Linked DNA regions of Homo sapiens: region 2 is linked to region 1. Evidence: promoter capture Hi-C in 16 types of primary human blood cells and fetal thymus (Javierre and others, 2016). All regions are on one chromosome and are shown on one strand. Each heading gives the region's core, a stretch centred on a gene start or on the middle of the fragment in contact. The rest is flanking DNA. Distances are from core to core; before and after follow the strand shown.

The links. Contacts are between HindIII fragments. The CHiCAGO score rates a contact against its expected background, and 5 or more counts as called.
Region 2: a contact is called between a fragment that was not itself captured here and the fragment with the promoter of GLS2 in region 1, in 1 of 17 cell types (M1 macrophages). The highest score is 5.4, in M1 macrophages.

What each region holds. Positions count from the first base shown.
Region 1 is chr12:56,486,911-56,492,935 of GRCh38, reverse strand. It overlaps GLS2 (glutaminase 2), which reads left to right and starts at 4,775. Exons shown (of 18, transcript NM_013267.4): 1 at 4,775-4,999. The coding sequence starts at 4,818. It overlaps LOC124902944 (a long non-coding RNA gene), which reads right to left. Exons shown (of 2, transcript XR_007063331.1): 1 at 5,984-6,025; 2 at 5,604-5,949. RefSeq lists a silencer at 4,429-4,858 and an enhancer at 5,019-5,238. The HindIII fragment of the contact is 16,217 bases long and covers 2,263-6,025 here.
Region 2 is chr12:56,616,563-56,622,686 of GRCh38, reverse strand. It overlaps BAZ2A (bromodomain adjacent to zinc finger domain 2A), which reads left to right. Exons shown (of 29, transcript NM_001300905.2): 2 at 5,155-5,292. The coding sequence starts at 5,157. Among named protein-coding and RNA genes, the nearest start is that of BAZ2A, 11 kb to the left of the region's middle. The HindIII fragment of the contact is 423 bases long and covers 1,264-1,686 here.

The DNA of each region.
Region 1 (6,025 bases), core at 3,526-6,025:
TCTTTAAGTCAAAGAAAAACAAGTATTAAAATACTATTTCTCTAGCAATAACTTGGAGAAGGGAAAAAAGAAAAAAGAAAATGCTATCAAGCAAACCCCGAAGGTATTTTCTTCTTGCTGTGTTGGCAAAGGCTTTCAAATTCCTTCAAATTAGCTTTCGCCTACAGACTTTTCTAAATCCTTTTTAGGAATTCTAGCAAAATCTACATTATTTTAGTATATTTTGTTGATTAAGACTTGCTAGAATCTACTTTAATAGCTATTGGAGAACCCAGATTATACAAGATATTATTTGGAAAAATAGAGAAAATGCATGTTAGGCATCGTAAATGGACCAGTGTGATGATATGTTTTTTAATAGGCTTATATTTATATTTTTTCAGTCCTATAAATGTTCATTTTGTTATTGCTAAACCAAAGAAGAATTAGGAAAGCACACTGGAGTAGATCACAGACACGCTTAAACTTTTATTAAATTTCATTTACTCCATGAAAGTCTAGCATCAAGTTAAAACATGCATCCCATACCTACATCCTCAGTTTCATTGGTCCCCATTCTTTTTTTTTTTTTTTTTTTTTTTTTTGAGATGGAGTCTCGCTGTCACCCAGGCTGGAGTGCAGTGGCGCGATCTTGGCTCACTGCAACCTCTGCCTCCCAGGTTCAACTGATTCTCCTGCCTCAGCCTCCTGAGTAGCTGAGATTACAGGTGCATGCCACCACGCCTGGCTAATTTTTGTATTTTCAGTAGAGATGGGGTTTCACCGTGTTGGTCAGGCTGGTCTCGAACTCCTGACCTTGTGATCTGCCCACCTCAGTCTCCCAAAGTGCTGGGATTACAGGCATAAGCCACCACGCCCGGCTGGTCCACATTCTTATACCCACGTTTCATTCCAACCAAACTAGAGGTAGAGTCCCTCAAATGTTCCTCTCAGGCTATGTTTATTCTTGTAGAGCCCTCTGTCTGAAACACCTCTCGTGCTTTAAAAACCAGCTCCTGTCAGTCACCATTCCTCTTCTATCCCAGTGGCCCTTCACCCCCAGCTTAGTTAGATGTCCCCTTTATACTTTCTTCTGCATGTCTCTACATCACAGCATTTTTCATTAGGAATTTTAAACATAAGCTTTCTCATTTCTCCCAGTAGAAACTGGTTTATTAAATTTTTAAATTTCTGGATTTTCCAGCACTGGACCTGGCACACTGAATGCCAACAAATAAATATTAATTGAGTGAATGGAAGCTCATTATGTCAGAGCCCCAAGTACTTACATTTTACCCAGTAAAATACAAGTTTATCTTTTACAAATGGAGAAACTAAGGCAGAAAGGAGTTTGTAACAATAGTATCATTAACAAAGATTAATAAAAAAATGAACTAATCTTTTACTTGGACCAATTAACATCCTAGCTACAGTCTAAAGAGTAGAACAGGCCAGGTGCGGTGGCTCACACCTGCAATCCTAGCACTTTGAGAGGCTGAGGCGGGCAAATCAAGGGGTCAGGAGTTCGAGACCAGCCTGGCCAACATAGTGAAACTCCGTCACTACTAAAAATACGAAAATTAGCCGAGCATATTGGCGGGTGCCTGTAATCCCAGCTATTCGGAAGGCTGAGGCAGGAGAATTGCTTGAACCCGGGAGGCGGATGTTGCAGTGAGCCAAGATCACACCATTGCACTCCAGCATGGACGACAGAGCGAGACTCCATCACACACACACACACACACACACACACACACACACACAAAATAGAGTAGAACAAATGAGTCTCTAAATCATAAGAAATAAACAAACTCCAAACATCAATTTCCTATCACAGAGGATTAGCTTTTCCTTCTTTCTTTCTTTTCTTTTTTTTTTTTTGTTTGAGACGGAGTTTTGCTCTTGTTGCCCGGGCTGGAGTGCAATGGCGTGATCTCAGCTCACCGCAACCTCCGCCTCCCAGATTCAAGCAATTCTCCTGCCTCAGCCTCCTGAGCAGCTGGGATTACAGGCATGAGCCACCGCGCCCGGCCCGGATTTAGCTTTTATTAAGGATTCAAAATCATTAAGTCTAATCCTCTCTCACATACCACAAAACTCTGGCACAGCCATGGACTAACCTAAAAGCCCACTGTTAGAGACACAAAGAACTTTCTTTCAGTTATGAAAATCTTCATTTCTAGCTGCCCTTGTCATAGTTGGCTAATAGTTTTGCACAAATTAAACTAGATGATGAGTATTTTTCAAATTAGAAACAAAAAGAGGACCTGACCCTGCCAAGCTTTAACCACCTGGGACAACAAACTTGTTCTTCTCCAGCATCTTATACTTTACACAGTACCATTGGCCTCCCAAGTCACCAGTTCATGCTCCATCCTCATGCAAAGACAGCAATATTGTATTGGAGACAGTTAGTCCAAAGGTCCAAGTGCAGCTGGAGCTAGTTCTCTAAGCAAAGAACCTCTGCTTCCATGCATAGATCTTCTTCACTACCCAACCAGTTCCTATTAGTGGAAGAGTGCTGGGAGAAAGAGAGTAAGGAACTCATTAGAGTATAAAGCTAATTCAAAGAGGCAGAAATAGGAAAAAAAGGAAGCAAATTACTTCTGGGTAATGTTTAGAAATTCCCTAACAGATGGTATTTTTCTCTTGAATAGATCAAAACGTTTCAGATAAATCATATTTCTATGAAACAAGGATAAGATTCGTCTGTTACGTATGAAAAAAACTAATGCAGGATTGAGTTTACGTTAAGTATTGAGACCCAGAACTCTGCCTCTTGGGCAAAGCCAAGCATAAAGCAGCAAGCCCTCCCAGAATTAGACGGCTTTCCACGGACAGGAGAACAGATACAGCAGACACAGAATGACTACAGAAGGCGAAAACAAGCAAAAACAAATGTCACTCCATCTGGTTTTAAGCCAAATAAGCCCTCCAACCCTAACCAAGGCAAAGGAGAACTGCCTTTCCACAGAACACACCTGACTGGTTTCAGTACTTGTTTTCCCACGAGTACCCTTGAAACTCATTTTAATCCAAAAATGAAAACTATGGGACAAGCACGGTGGCTCATGCCTGTAATCCCAGCACTTGTGGGAGGCTGAGGCGGGCGGATCATCTGAGGTCAGGAGTTTGAGACCAGCCTGACCGATATGGCGAAACCACATCTTTACTAAATACAAAAAATTAGCTGGGCGAGGTAGCAGGCGCCTGTAATCCCAGCTACTAGGGAGGCTGAGGCAGGAGAATCGCATGAACCCAGGAGGCGGAGGTTGCAGTGAGTCGAGATTGCGCCATTGCACTCCAGCTAGGGCAACAAGAGCAAAACTTCGTCTCAAAAACAAACAAACAAAAACTAGTATTTTGTGATACAGCCAGAACTATCACAAGGAAAAGACTCCCAGTACTGTATCATAATACTTCCACATAAAATACCTCCTTTAGGGATGGGGTCATTTCTCCCGGGATAATTCAATTCAATGCTTAATTTTTGAGAAGGGCTGCATGAAGGAGAGACTTGTAGTTAAAAAAAAAAAACGGGTCTAATTTCTGGTTCTGGTACTTACTAGCTGGGTTACCTTATGCGAGAATTCTTAATTTCCTAGTCTTAGTTTCCTCACCTTCAAATTGAGACTAATAACTACTTTGTAGGTCTCTGGTAAGAGGGAGAGAGAAACTAAGCGGTTGGAACACCATGGGCACTCAATAATAGCTATCATTTACATAATGAGTCCCTACTAAATATGGATGCTGGGTTAGGCGCTGCCGAGATACAAGGTGAAAGTTCTAGCTGCAAATGGCAAAAGTCCTGAATGTTCTTGGATTTCAAAATGCTTTTTGTATATCGCCTCTTTTCTGCCCGTGAGGAGGACAAGGGCAAACAATTAAAATAGGAAAAATGTGGGGAGCACTTCATGGTTTATAAAACGTTTTTCTGCGTGCCAACTTATTTTAATGTCTTAACTTTCCAGATTTGAAAACAAGTCCTACACCAAATAAATGGTAGAGGGACACAAACTGGAACCCAGGCTTCCTAACCGCCAGAGCGACCTTCCCGCCGCCCAATGCCTCCCTGAGGTGCTGGTCGGCTGCTTCTGCCCGGGGTACCCAGCAGTCATCCTACTCTCCACTCAGCACCACCGCACGTCGGCCGCGCGCCACGCTACCCGCCGGGTTACTGGGCGCTGGTTTGGCCTTCGGAGGTCGAGGCTCTCTGAGTGACCTCCTGAACTGGGCTCACTCTTACTTAGCCTCCTCTCTCGAGGCAGCACCCTCCTCTCTACACGACAACTCCATCATTCGCAGCCCCACGGTGTTCCCGGGGAGCGCCTCCCGCCCCCACCGGCTTCGCCTCAGCTTGTCCTCGCCTTTCCCGCCCTCAGCATCCGCGGATACCCGCGCTCGCCGGGCCCACGCGGAAGCATCCGCAGACTGTCGCAAGGTCCCACCGTCTTGCTCTCATTGGGCAACCTTACCCTTTCCCCGCCTCAATGTTTTTGCTTCCTCAGTGATTGGACCTGGGCATTGTCCATTCCAGCTCCCAGGCACCGCCCTCTCTCCACCCACTAGAAAGCCACCCGGGTTCTCCTTCATCCCCAACGCTCCTCACCTAGCCCCTGTCCTGAGGGTGCCCCTAACCCTGGAGCCAGCTTTAAAGGGGCAGGCCCCTTCTCCTGCCCCAGCCCCAGCCCCACCCACCGGGCCCACATTCTCCGTCTTCCAGGTCCAGCGCTCCCTCACAGAACTCCCCCGCACCTTGTCTCGCTCGCTCCGCCCCTCCTTCCCAGCCACAGCTAGAGGTCCCGGGCGCACCTGCAGAGCCGGAGGCTTGCTGGGGCATGCGCTCCATGAAGGCTCTGCAGAAGGCCCTGAGCCGGGCTGGCAGTCACTGCGGGCGAGGAGGCTGGGGTCACCCGAGCCGGAGCCCCCTCCTTGGCGGGGGCGTCCGGCACCACCTCAGTGAGGCCGCGGCGCAGGGCAGAGAGACGCCACACAGCCACCAGCCGCAGCACCAGGATCAGTAAGGCTCCTGGGACAGGGCAGGGGACGGGCTTGCCCCCACTCCCACTGTGGTTCTCGCTAGTTCCCGAGTGCCCTTCCAAGGCAGCGCCGCTCATCTCCCCTCTCCTCGCTCACTAGCCCTCGGTGCCTTTTCCTTTGGATGTGGGGCTTTGGGTGCGCCGCGCTCGGGCGGTAATCTGCCGTCTGCCTAGGAGTGCGTTCGGGCAAGCGGGTCCTGGGGATGGCGCCTGTCCAAGGTGCGCACTTAACCCGGATCACAGATGCGCGCCGAGTGTTGCTTGGCTCACGTGTCTGAGTGCAGGGCCGGGCTCACGCCGCCAGTCCTCACCTTCCCTAGTCCTCGTGTGTATTTTAGGAGATGCGTGGATGTGGAACAGCCTCCTGCCTCCGGTCCAGGTGTACTGGGGTCTGTGTGTTGTGTTTCTGCGTGTTCTCGGCAGGTAATGTGTGATGCGCGTGTATTATTGGTGCGCAGGTACGTCCATAAGTGTTGGGTGTGTGCGTAGCAGTGCTCCCTGAACAGCAGAATGGGGGGGAATTTCCAAACTGGTTGTTGAATGGGGAGAATATTTGTAATGGAGGAAAGGTCTTTAAGACGCAGATTTCCCAAACCAGAGCCAGTCAGAGCCTTTATTTGTGCTGCCCAGGCTCCAGAATCTAAAACGTTCTCTTCCTTTGGGTGTTTCTTCCACCCAGGATGCCAAACCTTTATCTTCCCCACCGCCTAGGACACACTTGGTGGCTGAGCCTTTTTCTCTGAGACCCAGACGGTGCTGAGCAGGAAATCTTGTCCTCCCCAGAGGGCCAGCATAGACACTGTCCAAAGAGCCCCTGCTCTACTGTAGCAGGAACAGGAAATGGGCCATCTCCCTCGTCGCTGCCATCTCCCTGATGACACTCAGAAACATGGACACCATCAGTAAAGTAGCCAGACTGACACAACACTACCTCACCACTACTCGAGTCTCTGACACAACACTACCTCACCACTACTCGAGTCTCTGTCGTAAGGGACACCAATAGG
Region 2 (6,124 bases), core at 226-2,725, 130 kb before region 1:
TTTTCTCATTTGGTGAAAATCCTATTAGTTCAAAGGGAGATGCTCTCCTTTGCTTTACTGTTCTTACTAGCTCTGGATGGGAGGACAGAGTTTACCTTTAGGGTTTATTGTGAAAAGCATCTTGAGTAGGAAGGTTAAAATGAAATAAACCTAGGTTCATTGTTGAGAGGAGGTGTTCACATGTTTTTCGTATTCCCATACTGTGACATAATTAATTCCCATATTTAAGTGACATCTGAAATCAGGAGTCAAATTGTATATAAGGAAGTCTGGCTGGATCATCCCTAGTTTTAAATTATATTTATTTTATATGTAGACCGTTTAGACCTGATTATCTTTTTTTTTTGGAGATAGAGTGTTGCTCTGTCACCCAGGCTAGAGTGCAATGGTGCGATCTCAGCTCACTGCAACCTCCATCTCCTGGATTCAAGCAATTCTCCTGCCTCAGCCTCCTGAGTAGCTGGGATTACAGGTGCCCGCCACCACGCCCAGCTAATTTTTTGTAATTTTAATAGAGATGGGGTTTCGCCATGTTGGCCAGGCTGGTTTCGAACTCTTGACTTCAGGTGATCCACCCACCTTGGCCTCCCAAAGTGCTGGGATTACAGGCGTGAACCACTGCGCCTGGCCAGGCCTGATTATCTTTTTGAAAACTACACAGTCTTTTACTGTTTGTCTAATAATAGTAGCTAATGTAGTCCTGGTAAGGTGGCTCACGCCTGTAATCCCAGCACTTTGGGAGGTCAAGGTGGGAGAATTGCTTGAGGCCAGGAATTTGAGACCATCATGGGCAACATAGCGAGACCCTGTGTCTACAAAAAAATTTAAAAATTAGCCAGGTGTGGTGGTGAGCACCTGTAGTCCTAGCTACTTGGGAAGCTGAGGCAGGAGGATTACTGGAGCCCAGGAGTTCCAGGCTGCAGTGAGCTATGATCATGCCACTGCACACCACTCTGGATGACAGAGTGAGACTCTGTCTCAAGAAGAAAAAAAAAAAACTAACGTTTATGGAGTGCTTGCTGGATGACAGACACTGTGCTGGGGCTCTAATTTAGATTTTCTCATTTCATCCTCACCAGTCCTTAAAAGTGGGTACAAAAATTGTTACAGATGATGAAACTTAGGCCCAGCAAGTATAAGTAACTTGTCCAAGGTTAAACAGCTAGCTAGTAAATAGTAGAGTTGGGATTTGAACCTAGAGCCCACTACATTGTGCTGACCACATTGCATAGCACAAAGACAATTTTATGTGTCTAGGAAGCTTCTCGTAAATGAAGTGGTTGTGGTTCTGATGACAGTTCAGAAGAGACAGGTGGAGAAACTGATCTCACATACTAAATAACTTCCCATTCTTTTTAATTCTCTGATTTCTGTGAGCCATCGACATGTTGTTATTAATATTTACAAAAACAGGATATGCTGTGCTTTTCCAGAGCAGCAGAGAGGAGGTCACAACTTTGTTCTTGGATTCAAATAGAGAATGGAAAAATGAACCGTGACCCATCATTGAGGAGGATATAGTCCACTGCACATAGGATGGAAGTTGCATGTATCCTCCACACCAGGGGAGGTGTACAAAAAACTGGGGAGAGGAGAGGTGAGGATCAGATGAAATTGGCCCTCTAGGCATAGTATTTCCAGGACTTCTGAAGTGAAGAGTGTCCTCCTTGCTCTGTGGTATAAGCTTTGGAAGGAACCTAACTGGAGACTAAGGAATGAACTTTCCTTTAATTCTTGCACTTAAGAAGGATTATTAATCTCATGATGCTTATCTTTCAGACCCCCTACTGCTGAGGAGTAGCTGTTAACTATACTAGGGAAATCCTGACTGGGCGCAGTGGCTCATGGCTGTAATCCCAGCACATTGGGAGGCCGCGGTGGGTCGATCACTTGAGGTCAGGAATTCAAGACCAGCCTGGCCAACATGGTGTAACCCCGTCTCTACTAAAAAGATAAAAAATTATCTGGGCGTGTTGGCGGGTGCCTGTAATCCCAGCTGCTGGGGAGGCTGAGGCAGGAGAATCGCTTGAACCTGGGAGGTGGAGGTTGCAGTGAGCCGAGATCACACCCTTGCACCCCAGCATGGGCAACAAGAGGGAAACTCTGTCTCAAAAAAAAAAAAAGGAAATCCTGGAGGACCCTGTGTGTTTTGTTTGTTTGTTTGTTTTGTTTTGTTTTGTTTTTTTGAGACAGGGTTTCGCTCTGTCACCCAGGCTGGAATGCAGTGGCATGATCTTGGCTCACTGCAATCTCTGCTTCCCAGGCTCAAACAATCCTCCTGCCTCAGCCTCCCAAGTGGCTGGGACTGCAGCTGCTCACCATCATGCCTGGCTAACCTGGGGTCTTTTCACTATAAAGACTCCATTTTTTCACTGATGCATGGCAGGTTTAGGTCTGCTACTTAATTTAGAGCAAGCTTGTCCAGCCCACCCAGGACAACTTTGAATCTGGCCCAATACCAATTTGTAAACTTTCTTAAAAGATAACATGGAGATTTTCTTGTGATTTTTTTTTTTTTTTTAAAGCTCATCAGCTCTCATTAGTGTATTTTATGTGTGGCCCAAGACACTTCTTCCAGTGTGGTCCAGGGAAGCCAAAAGATTGGACACCCCTATTTAGACTAAAGATGAGATATCCTATATGGGAGATAAGTAAGTCCTAAAAACTTTTTCCCTTAAATCAACAAATGCACATTGCTTTTAGTTTTTAGAGATGGGGTCTTGCTATGGTGCATAGGCTGGACTTGCACTTTTGGGCTCAAGTAATCTTCCTGCCTCATCCTCCTGAGCAACTGAGACTACAGGCAGGAACCACCATGCTCAGCTAACTTTTTTATTTTTTGTGGAGACAGAGCCTTGCTATGTTTCCCAAGCTGGTCTTGATCTCCTGACCTCAAGTGATCTTCCTGCTTCAGCCTCCTGGAGCACTAGGATTACAGGCATGAGCCACCATGCTTGGCCTATTTTTATTTTTAAAATTTCAGTTAAAATTGATTAAGATACAGACAATTCCCACATACTATGCAGGGTTTATATATCATGCTCAGACTTATGTTATATTCACATTTATACTAATGGTGTCTAATTTTAGTAATGTAGCATATTTATGAATGTAACTCTTGCAGACTTTGGCCAGTGGGCATATATATTCTTTTCTTTTCTTTTTTTTTTTTTTTTTTGAGACAGGGTCATGCTCTGTCACCTAGGCTGGAGTGCAGTGGCATGATCATGGTTCACTGCAGCCTCGACCTCCTGGGCTCAAGTGATCCTTCTGCCTTAGCCTCTCGAGTAAGCTAGGACCACAGGTGTGCCCCACCACACCCTGCTCCTTTTTTTTTTTTTGAGATGAAGTCTCGCTCTTGTCCCCCAGGCTGGAGTGCAATGGCATGATCTCCGCTCACTGCAACCTCCGTCTCCCAGGTCCAAGCAATTCTCCTGCCTCAGCCTCCCGAGCAGCTGGGATTACAGGTGCCTGCCACCACGCCCAGCTAATTTTTGTATTTTTTAGTAGAGGTAGGGTTTCACCATGTTGGCCAGGCTGGTCTTGAACTCCTGACCTCAGGTGATCCGCCAGCCTCGGCCTCCCAAAGTGCTGGGATTTCAGGTGTGAGCCACCGTGCCTGGCCTTCACACCCTGCTACTTTTAAAATGTTTTGTAGAGATCGGTTCTCGCCATGTTATCCAGCTTGGTCTTAAACTCTTAGCCTCAAATAGTCCTCCTGCTTTGGCTTCCAAAGTATTGGGATTATAGGTGTGAACCACTATGCCAGGCCTCATCATATATGTACTTAACCAGTGTATTCATTCTTTTTTTTTTGAGATGGAGTTTCACTCTTGTCGCCCAGGCTGGAGTGCAATGGCGCAATTTCAGCTCACTGCAACCTCTGCCTTGCGGGTTCAAGCGATTCTCCTTCCTTAGCCTCCTGAGTAGCTGGGATTACAGGTGCCTGCCACCACACCCAGCTAATTTTTGTATTTTTAGTAGAGACAGGGTATTACCATGTTGGTCAGGCTGGTCTCGAACTCCTGACCTCAGGTGAGCCACCGTACCTGGCCTGAATTCTTCTCTTTTTTAAAATGTAGTAACATAATTCAAGGAGTTGCTTTTTCTGTATCAAGACAGATTATGTTTCTCACATATCAAGTTGGTATGCACTAGGATGTCACAAGAATCCGATTGATATGTTAGAGTTTACCAATAATTCTGGCTTCTGCTTGCTTTCTTTCCTTTCCTCTGTCAAAGTTAAATTCATTCTGATCAAGGGCTTCTTATCATTCTTAGTAGTATTCAGAAAGGGTGAAAAACTTTTTAGCCATACCTCAATGAGCCATTGCACTTTACAAATATAAGTATCTTGCTATTTTATTTTCCCTGTGACCGTTTCTTTATATTTAAGCCACAAAACTAAAACATTAGGAAATAACCATAATAGACATAACAGAATAATATTTTTTGGGATACCCTCATATTTAATCAATTTTCCACTGCTGACATTTTTCTGACCTGTGTTCTTGGGGAGCATAAAGAGTAGAAGTATTGCTGGATGATTCGAGGTTTGCCATTATGATCACCTTCCTGAAATGTATTCTCCTTTTCAAATCCCTTTACTAATGTAACTACTATCTTGAGATATCTAGGGCTATGGATAGGATAATTAGAAATTATGTTTAGCTCAAGTTTAATAATGAAACAAAGAGTGTTTATCAAATATGCTTTTCTGTCAAAAAGATGGCTTTGAGAACCTTTTGTGGGCCTGGGAGGGAGACTTTACCTTGGGGATAAAAACAAAAGGATGGAGAATGTTAAGTGGTACAGTAGAGGCTAATATCTAATATAGAAGGGTAACCTGGGCTGAGTGGGGCTTACACAGAGGGAAGACTCCTCCAGGTTTGTATCTTGGTTTTTCTCGCTAACTTGCTTTGTTTTTTAATCTACAAAGCTGGCTTTAAAAGACTGTTTTCATAGGTTCATTGCTCAGGCTAGAGGCATATTTTCTCCTTCTCTTTTCTTATTCTGTACCTTCCCTCACACAGTACTTAGGTAGGAGAAGGGTAAGTAGGTGGAGGGGAGGGGTCATTGCCCCTGGAAGATTCCAGGTGACATAACCTTGTTTAACCGCCAGTATTTTTTTTCCCTCTCTCTCCCCTCCTGCAGAAATGGAGGCAAACGACCATTTTAACTTTACTGGCCTTCCCCCTGCACCTGCTGCCTCAGGACTGAAACCCTCTCCTTCCTCAGGGGAGGGCCTCTACACTAACGGGTCTCCCATGAACTTCCCCCAGCAAGGGAAAAGTGAGTGTGAGGGCTGCTTGGCCTGGGGAGGGAATGGGCATCATCCCTTTAGGGCAGATTCATGGGGGGATATTTTGCTCTACTTTGCTGCTGGAGAGAAATCAACTTCTAAGAACAAGTTCTAGGGTTTTTTGGAAACATTTTTTGTATTGATTTAAGGTTGGAAGAGATTAGAAAAACCCACTGGCTTTTTCATCTTAGCCTGTTCTTCTGTCAGCCCTGTTCCCCTGGCTGCTGACAGAGCAGTGAAGTGGCTACTGCTGCTGATAACCCATGAGAGAGATAAAGTGCTAGCCTTCTAAGAAGCTGTTTTTAGAGGTTAGGGAAGCTACACTGGGCCAGGACTGAGAGTTGAATGAAGGTTGCAGTGTATTTATTGCCTTTTAGTTTGTACATCAGAGAAAGGCAGATGCTAGAAGTACTTATTCCACCTTCTGTCCTTGGATGGAAGGTAGGGACAAGGGAAAGTTTAATGCTTACCTAGTTCCCCCAGAGAGAAGTTCATAATTCCATATGGAGGTGTTGCTGCCAGGATTGGGTCTTTTCCTGGATTTGGCTTACCAGTTGCTCTGTACCATGACTCGCCAGGTACCTCTGTAATCTTGCTTGGGTTTCAAGTCCTTTATACTTGGAAGCAGAGAGAAGCCCACATGCTTCCCTCCTTTCTTGTAGCAGAAAAATCCTGCTACTTCTCCCTCCGATCCTCTCGAAGAGGGTTGCAGATGGTAGAAGCTCCTTTATTTCATTGGATTCCACCCTACCCTCAAGCTTCCTTAATATCTTGGTTCTTTTTGATTGATTGTCCTCCATCCCAGAGGTTGCCATTGATGAT